Regions from separate parts of the Homo sapiens genome. Here all the other regions are linked to region 2. The links are contacts of gene promoters, found by promoter capture Hi-C in blood cells and fetal thymus (Javierre and others, 2016). All regions are on one chromosome and are shown on one strand. The core of a region is centred on a gene start or on the middle of the fragment in contact, and the rest is flanking DNA. Distances in the headings are between cores, read along the strand shown. Region 1 has its middle 79 kb from the start of CBR4. Region 2 holds the start of PALLD-AS1 (PALLD antisense RNA 1). Region 3 overlaps PALLD (palladin, cytoskeletal associated protein).

The links. Contacts are between HindIII fragments. The CHiCAGO score rates a contact against its expected background, and 5 or more counts as called.
Region 1: a fragment that was not itself captured here is called in contact with the fragment with the promoter of PALLD-AS1 in region 2 in 1 of 17 cell types (monocytes); the score reaches 5.5 in monocytes.
Region 3: a fragment that was not itself captured here is called in contact with the fragment with the promoter of PALLD-AS1 in region 2 in 1 of 17 cell types (endothelial precursors); the score reaches 6.2 in endothelial precursors.

Annotation. Positions count from the first base shown.
Region 1 is chr4:168,930,117-168,932,897 of GRCh38, forward strand. It overlaps a transcript of CBR4 not described here. Among named protein-coding and RNA genes, the nearest start is that of CBR4, 79 kb to the right of the region's middle. RefSeq lists an enhancer at 712-1,213. The HindIII fragment of the contact is 2,247 bases long and covers 211-2,457 here.
Region 2 is chr4:168,647,304-168,650,099 of GRCh38, forward strand. It overlaps PALLD-AS1 (PALLD antisense RNA 1), which reads right to left and starts at 1,284. Exons shown (of 2, transcript XR_001741449.3): 1 at 1,189-1,284; 2 at 593-1,041. All of the region lies in intron 2 of PALLD (palladin, cytoskeletal associated protein), which reads left to right. The HindIII fragment of the contact is 4,235 bases long and covers 1,121-2,796 here.
Region 3 is chr4:168,910,289-168,913,294 of GRCh38, forward strand. The region is part of intron 15 of PALLD (palladin, cytoskeletal associated protein); the gene reads left to right. It also overlaps a transcript of CBR4 not described here. Among named protein-coding and RNA genes, the nearest start is that of CBR4, 98 kb to the right of the region's middle. The HindIII fragment of the contact is 3,838 bases long and covers 1-3,006 here.

The DNA.
Region 1 (2,781 bases), core at 84-2,583, 280 kb after region 2:
TTATGGCAGTTGTTAGAGTTACCAATAGATGTAATTTATAGGCATTTGTATTATAAATTTGTTTTTAATACTTTGATAATTACTTAAAAATAATTTGTTTTATGTATTTTATGCCTCCATGAACATTATTTTGAGAAGGGATCCAGAAGATTTACCAGAGGGTCAAAAAGGCATATGGCACCAAAAAAATTAAGAACCAGGCCCTACAGAAGCTTAAATACGTAGAAAAGGATAAAAAATTTGAGGAAAGCCTAATTTGTCATTAGTAGAAGAAGGAACAAAACTAATTAATTCATACAATGAAATATTACTTACTATTCAGAGTTAAAGGTAAAGAAATGGATTTACTTCTATTGGCAGGGATAAATATGAAAAACAGCATTTGACGAGGAAGGGAAGTTACATAAGAGTGATGTCAGCAAGATGGCTGACTAGAGGTTCCTGGCATTCATCCCCCCAAGAAAGGATCAACAAATGAACAAACAGTTAACATTCAACTGAAGTGTCAAAGGAAGAGCACTGGAGTGCAGTGGGGGTAGCTGCGGTCACTGAAAGTCCAGAAGGCAGCATGGAGACACCTTGTCTCTGCTGCCCATGCCCCTGCATCCCCCAACTCTGACTGGCCTGGAGTCAAGAGGAGAAACTTTCCTTTGCTGGGAAAACGTAAGCAGAGCCCCATCAGCCCCCATTACCACTGCAAACACCTACAATCCTTACTACAGGAGAATTCCACAGTCCTCACAAGCCCTGAACCGACTTTAGAGAGCCACTGTCGATTGCACAGCTGCATTCCTCTGGATTAGGAACATGAGATATGTACTCTCCACCCCTTAGGTGCCTGCTGTGGGGCCCAGTAGCAAATGCACCTCTCCAGCCCAGCGGCTCTGTCATTCCACCAAGCACACATGGGTGGCTGCAATGCCACAACCCTGGAGGCTCAGAACCTGGGCCCAGGATTGGCTGTGACTCTGGTTCTGCACAGCAGGAAAACCAACCATCATTGCCTGAACTTCCAGGCAGAGAAACAGTCTAGCAAATTCTCCCAAAGCATACATACCTACCCTTGAGCTGGCCAAACTGGGCCCCTGAGCTGCTAAGCACCTGACATGCCCTCAGGCCAGAACCAGTACCAGCCTATCTCCTAAGCCTGAGAAACAGCCCAATGCCCCCTACCTCCATGGACATGCCTCCAGGCCTACCCAGTGGAACTGTGCCCAGGCTAGGGTATGAGAAACAGTCCAGTGGGCCCAATCCCAGCATACATGTCCCTAGACCTTCCCAGCAGCCCTGTGCCCATGCCCAGGGCCTGAGAAACAGCTTGGGAGATTAACTTCCAGTAGACACACCCCTGGGCCAGGTGAGCTGTCACATGACCATGCCCAGGGCCTAAGAAAGAGCCCCATGGGGTCAACCCCCATGGACACACCCCCTGGCTGGCTGAGAGGCACACCACTGTCCCAAGCCCAAGAAACAGCCCACTTGGCCCACCTCTGGCAGACACACCCCCAGGCCAAATGAGCATGCCTGTACCCAGGGCCTGAGAAACATCCCTGTGGCCCCAATCCCAGCAAGCAAGACCCCAAGTTGGTTGACACCGTTCACACACATGCCCCCAATTTGAGAAACAATCCAGTGAGCCCACCCCAGCAAAGCTGCACCACCACTGCTACAAATTCTCACAGCCTAGGCCACTGGGCACTTACAAACATCAGCAGACTGGATTACAGCTGAAGAATCTGCACAGACACTACAGTACTGCATCCACCTAGAACCAAAGCCAACACACCCCCCCTAACTGACACTATAAGATCCTCCAATACAAATACGTCTTTCCCTACAAAACCTTTCATCAAATTAGAAGAGGTGACTGTTCTACCAGATGCATAGAAATCAACATCAAGGAACATATCAAACATGAAAAAACAAGAAACCATGATACCTCCAAAAGAACACAATAATGCTCCAGTAACACACCTTAATCATAAGGAAATATGTGAAATGCCATAAAAAGAATTGAAAATAATAATCTTAAGGAAGCTCAGTGAGGTAAAGAGAATATAGCTAAACTGTTCCCTCAAATCAGGAAAGTAATTCATGATTTGAATGAGAAATTCAACAAAGAACATAAAAAAAAAAAACCCAACAGAAATCTTAGAGTTGAAGAATTCAATGAATAAAATAAAAAATGCAATCAAGAGCTTCAACAACAGATTAGACAAAGCAGGGGAAAGAATTTCTGAACTTGGAGGTAGGCCTTTTGAAATAACTCATGCAGACAAAAAAAAAAGAATAAAGAAAGCCTACAGAATGTATGGGACACTGTTAAGTGAACAAATATTTGCATTTTGGAACTCCAGATGGAGAAGAGAAGGAAAAAGGTATAGAAAACAGATTTAATGAAATCACAGCAAAAAACTTCCCAAGTTTTGGAAAAGAGATGAACATCTAGCTCTAAGAAGCTTAAAGTCCCCAAAGAGATTCAACCTAAACAGTTCCTCTCTGAGGCACATTATAGTCAAATTGTCAAAAGTCAAATACAAAGAAAGAATTCTAACAACAGCAAGAGAAAAACGTCAAGTCACATATAAGGGAATACCCATTAGGCCAACAGCAGATAGCAGAAACCTTACAGGCCGGGAAAAAAAGAAATAATATATTCAATGTACTAAAAGAAAAATATTGCCAGTAAAGAATATTGCTTTAATATTCTTTATTAAATATAAGCAAAGCTATTCCTCAGAAATGAAAGAAAATAAAGTCTTTTTCAGATATGCAAAAGCT
Region 2 (2,796 bases), core at 34-2,533:
ACAACACTGCAAAATTTAGAAGATTCTCTAGTTCACTTACTACAATGGACTGTGTTTTTTCTTAGAGATCAGGATTAATTATTAAAATATTTAAAGAAAAAGATGTTTCTAAGGCTGCTAGGAAGACAAATCATAACAGTAGATCCCAATAATAAGCCTATGTGTAAAACAGTCTCTTAAAAAAGAGGTGGCATGTGGCCGGGCGTGTAGCTCATGCCTGTAATCCCAGCACTTTGGGAGGCCAAGGCAGGCACGTCATCTGAGGTCAGGAGTTCGAGACCAGCCTGGCCAATATGGTGAAACCCCGTCTCTACTAAAAATACAAAAATTAGCTGGGCATGGTAGTGCACACCTGTAATCTCAGCTACTCCGGAGGCTGAGACAGAAGAATAGCTTGAACCCTGGAGGCGGAGGCAGCAGTGAGCGGAGATTGTGCCATTGTACTCCAGCCTGGGTGACAGAGCCCGACTCTGTCTCAAAAAAAAAAAAAAAAAAAAAAGAAGTGGCATGCATATTTAAAAGTAGTTACAAAGAAAGTCTTGGCAGTTTTTCAGAGCTCCCTTCATGTAATCACTCTATTACAGTGCACTCCTCAAGTTGAAAAGCTCCCATTTATTTAACATTTTTTTAAAGAATTAAATATTTTCCTTATTTATCCAATTTGCAAACGTAAAGCAAGGCTGCATCATCTCTCCTTTTTCCGCATCCTTCTTTCCGTCCACTAAGGTAGTTCTCTGGGACTGTTGACAGCTTCTGAAGGTGATTTGATGTGAACTCCCCCCTGACTCCTGGTTTGTCTGCTTCTTATAAAGAGATAGTATGCTCCAGAGAGCACCAGAGGCAGTTCTTACCCAGCAATCCCGGAAGCAATTTTCTTCTGCTTTTCTTACTCACCAGAGCCCTCCTGGAGGTTTCAAGCAAAGGAGCTGAGCAGTTTGCAGTAGCTACTAGATAGAGGTTCATAATGGAATAGCAGCTTCAGGTTTTTAATCCATCATTAGAAATAGTTGTTTTGCAACTTGAGAGAGAAAAAGTAGAAATCTATGGCATAATGAAGGGGGAAAAATGGGTCATGTTACTGTAGAGATAGATGCAAATTCTATATTATGTCATAAGTGAAAGCTTTTTCGGTCCATATGGGTATAAATTAATAAGAGAGAATGCTGTCAGCGAAGAAAGTGTAAGTACTTTGTCTGGAGAGTAAGAGACCGGCCAGTTAGTCCTAATAAATCCGAGGGTTTGGGGAGCCTCTTTTGAGATAGGTGATGCATTGCGCATTATTAGAGAATCTCTTGGCATGAGTACTTTTGCACCAAGCATCTGCTTTTAAGGTCTCTTCATGAATGTTCTTCTTATGTGCTGATATCTTTATGCTTACACAAACTTGGTGGAAGGCACTATTGTTGCATCATTAAATTACCTCACTGTATTCTACAACTACCCTACCTAATATGCTCCAATCACTCTTACTGTATTTTGTTTTCTTCATAACATTTCCCTGTCTGAAATTATTTTATTCATGTGGTATCATTTAAGTGCTTATTATCTCTCTCACCCTGCTCCCATCACCACTGGAGTAAAAGCTGTAAGTAGACACCTTGTCATCTTCTCCTGTATATGCAAGTTTCCATTTTGTTTCATAATTAGCTTCTCTCTCCTCCCAGCAAGGTTTTCAAGATCCAACCCAAAGACTGCTTAAGGAGTGGAACTTAGACTTCTTTTACTTCTTCAAGAGTCACTTCATGGATAAAAAGCATCCTGTTCTTGGGACTTTGACTCAGCAGAGCCAAGAACTTTCCTATAAGCTATTGCTTGGTTGTTAAGGAAGCACAACAGAATACCAGCCTGACGTGTCACATTCTGCATGCGCTCATTTATAATACAGTGTGGTATTTTTCACCTCCTATCTGCAGCAAGATGAGATAATCGCTGGCTGGTGTGAGTTTTTTTAGTATCTCTTTGCATCAATAGATCTAGTTTTCAGACTATATACTTAAGTTTATAAAACAATTGCTAACATTTGTTTTCTTTAATCAGATTCAATTTGATTCTTATTAAGACCATGTTTTAGAAAGCCCCCAATGGCCCTCATAATAGTGGGAAGTTTTAGAAACAAAGGCCAATATTATGAACACATTAATATATAACCCAGGTGTCATGGAAGTGCTCTCAAATAGGAAACGTGGAAGACATTAGTTGCCTGCATCCCAAGTCAGAGACTTATTTTCTTAATTTGCTTTCTGTGCCTCCACAATGGTCTTTTTCCTTAGCTTTGGAAAGAAATTATAACAGCCAGCTAACTTTATTGGGTAACATGCATCAAGCCCCATAGCAGAGGTTAGATATGCATTACCTTGTTTGCATAACAACCTTATGAGGAAGGTACTAATAAAATATGGGTATAAAAGACCTCCATAGTTAAGGAATGAGGAAATAATAATGCAAGTCTCTTTTCCTACAACATAATGGTCCTAAAACGTATGTATTTCTTTGCATCTTTTAAAATGCAGCATAAATGGGGTATTCTAATATCATTTTGTTTTTCTTCAGGTTTCTCTTTTGTACATTTTAATAAGTTTAAAATATATAAAGTGGCCAGGCATGGTGGCTCACGCCTGTAATCCCAGCACTTTGGGAGGCTGAGGCGGGCACCTGAGGTCAGGAGTTCGAGACTAGCCTGGCCAACATGGTGAAACCCCATCTCTACTAAAAGTACAAAAATTAACCAGGCATGGTGGTGGATGCTTGTAATCCCAGCTACTCAGGAGGCTGAGGCGGGAGAATTGCTTGAACCCA
Region 3 (3,006 bases), core at 227-2,726, 260 kb after region 2:
GCTGAATAGGGCATATTTTTCCTCCTCCACATCAAATGCAGCCATCACACTAACAAGTACATTTCAGTATGATTGTGCTTAGCACCTTTCAAGCACCAGCAGAAGTTAAAAAGGTTAATCTGCTTCCCACATAGTCTGCCTCCTGTGCCAAAGGTATTTTGTTTTTCCTTTGGAGTAAATTACATTCTAATACCAAGAAAAATAAAATTCCATTACATAAACAATTCTAAAGGATGCCTCAAAACTGGTTATTATAATTATATCCATAGTGAGTGCTACAATAATTTAACATTTTGAGCATTGGCTTCATGCAAAACACAATGCTGCCCGGTGCTTTACAAGTATTAATGCCTTTAATCTTCATAAGAACCCATTAGGTATTAACTATATGGCCTTGTTTTACAGAGAAGGAAACTTAGAAAGATTAAGTTACCTGCCTAAAGTCACTCACCTGTAAGGGACAGCAGAACTGGTTTACAAACTTAGACTGATTCCAGAGCTACTGAATGCAATACGAAGGTATTTAAGGCTCATTCCAGGATTAAGAGCACTAAGTGGCAGGGGAGATAGTGGTTAAATATGAAAGAATTTTAGAAGGAGGTAAGCATATACCTCATGTAAAGTATATTCACATGGAAATTCTTGCTGGGGTCCGCCAAGCTGCTGGGGCTCCTAAAAACCATCTTGATGCATGTCCATGCATAATGTCTCAGACCCATGATAACACAGTACCAGCTATGAGGAATTTAATAATGATAATTTATGATGTCACATACCATTTGATATTTATGAGAGCATTTAGGTTACATCATTTAACCCTTAAAACATCCTTGTGAGAGATATATGTAGCATCCCTATTTGTACAGAAAAAGAAACAAAGGCTTGAACAAATTCAGTGATTTGCTCAAAGTTTTAGGAAAAGTCAGCACTCAAATCCAGGTTAGTGAGGTGTGTTTGTTTGACTGTTTGTAACAACCCATACCTCCTTTTCCAAATTCAAGTTTAAGTCTGAATTTAACTTACATTATATCTTTTTCTAACCGCATAAATGATTAGTTCATTTTAACTTACCATGGATCTTCTGAGCTTCATATCACAAGGAAGGATATATCCAAATTATAAGCATTTCATCATGGAAGCCGCAAAGCACATAATAAGGAAGCCATATCCCACATCAGGACAATTGGAAGCTATTTGTGTAAAACAATACACACACTTCCTTGTCCTCAACCTCCAAAAAGAATCATTAATTTTAAGTGTTCATGTGTTATCTTGTATGATGCATCAGTTGGATAGTTCATGATGGAGGTCTTCTAAGCAAGTTACATCTAGATTTTCTACAGCAAGTACAGATCTGGAGAACTTGGATGAAATTAATTTTTAGATTTCAGGCTAGTTTAGGGAATCCCAAATGTTTGCCAAGAGTTTAGCATAAGAATCTGTATCAAGTGGCCTGTGCTTCAGGTACAGTTAATCTGAGCTAGAAATAATTCTCCTTCATAATGTTAGACTTCATGTCTCCTTGGAAATTTTCAGGAAACACAGTGTTTTAACTATGACCTCAATAGCAAACACCGTGAATGCCAGACGGAGTCACATATGTAGTGGTATAAAACTAGTTATGTTTGTTTCTTTGTGATGACCTCTCTTTGGTAATTCCTCATTCTTCTCCTGTCTGTATTACATTCCTATGTGTCTTTGCCTTTTCTGGGTGGTTATAGCCCTAAAGAAGTCCAGGTTTTAGGAGACCTAGAGAACCCCCCCAGTTAGAGTCCTGCCCTTCAGTGAATCTTGCTATGGGATTTTTCTCTGCATTCCCTCCACTAGTGCCCTCACCCTGACCCCCACTCCAGTCTACTCACAGTTGGAAAGCAGTTCTTCAAAACACACAGAACACTGCAGCTTCTGTTACCTGTCTCTATAGGCAGCTTGCAATAAAAATGACAGCCAATGGGAGAATTTTATTCTGAGTGTAAGTGCATGAGGGCTTCTCATCAACTCTGAGCTAGAACTCACTAAGTCTAATCATTGATGGTACATCTGCTTCTTGTTTTTCCTCTCTTGCTGTTACCTTTGGCAGTCATCACAATTTAGAAGCACATCTTCTCATTCTTCTGAGAGAGTGAAGGAGAAAAATCATCTTTTTTGCTACTCTGCTGGTAACAGTGAAAAAAACAAATTAAGAGAAAGGGCTGAAACAAAAACCAAAGTAACAATGTGTGGCTTATCCATGTCATCTGGGTGCCCTGAGTATTACTTGTCTGTTCACATATGACAGCGTTTATCAAACTCTTTTTTTGCTTTTATTATTTTTAGTTGACACAATGATTATACATATTTATGAGGTACAGTGTGATATTTCAAAGCATGTATACAACGTATAATGTTCAAATCATGGTAATTAGCATATCTGTCACCTCACTTATCATTTGTGTTGGAAATACTCAAAATCCACTCTTCCAGCTATATGAAAATACACAATAAATTATTGTTATCCTACAGTGCTGTGAAACACTAAAACTTTTTCCTCCTATGTAGCTGTAATTTTGTATCCATTAACCAACTTCTGGCTATCTCCCCGACCCCACCACCCCGTCAAAATTTCAATTGACAAATTTAAGAGAACAAAATATAGGTTTTTTTAATTACATAGGCCCTTATCATATGACCCACATATTTTAGGTATTTAACTGCTTCTAGTTTTTAAATCTCAAATATGTTCATTTCATGAGAACATGGCTTCATTTAGTCATGAAGCTCTCCTTATCATCCCACGCATACTTCTTACATAACACTCATTTTATCATGCTCATTTTAATGTATGGTTTGGGGAAGGGATGCCACTAACTTTTTTTTTTTTTTTTTTGAGACAGAGTCTTGCTCTGTCACCCAGGCTGGAGTGCAGTGGCACCATCTCAGCTCACTGCAACCTCCGCCTCCCGGGTTCAATAGATTCTTCTGCCTCAGCCTCCCAAGTAGCTGGGACTATAGGTGCATGCCACCACG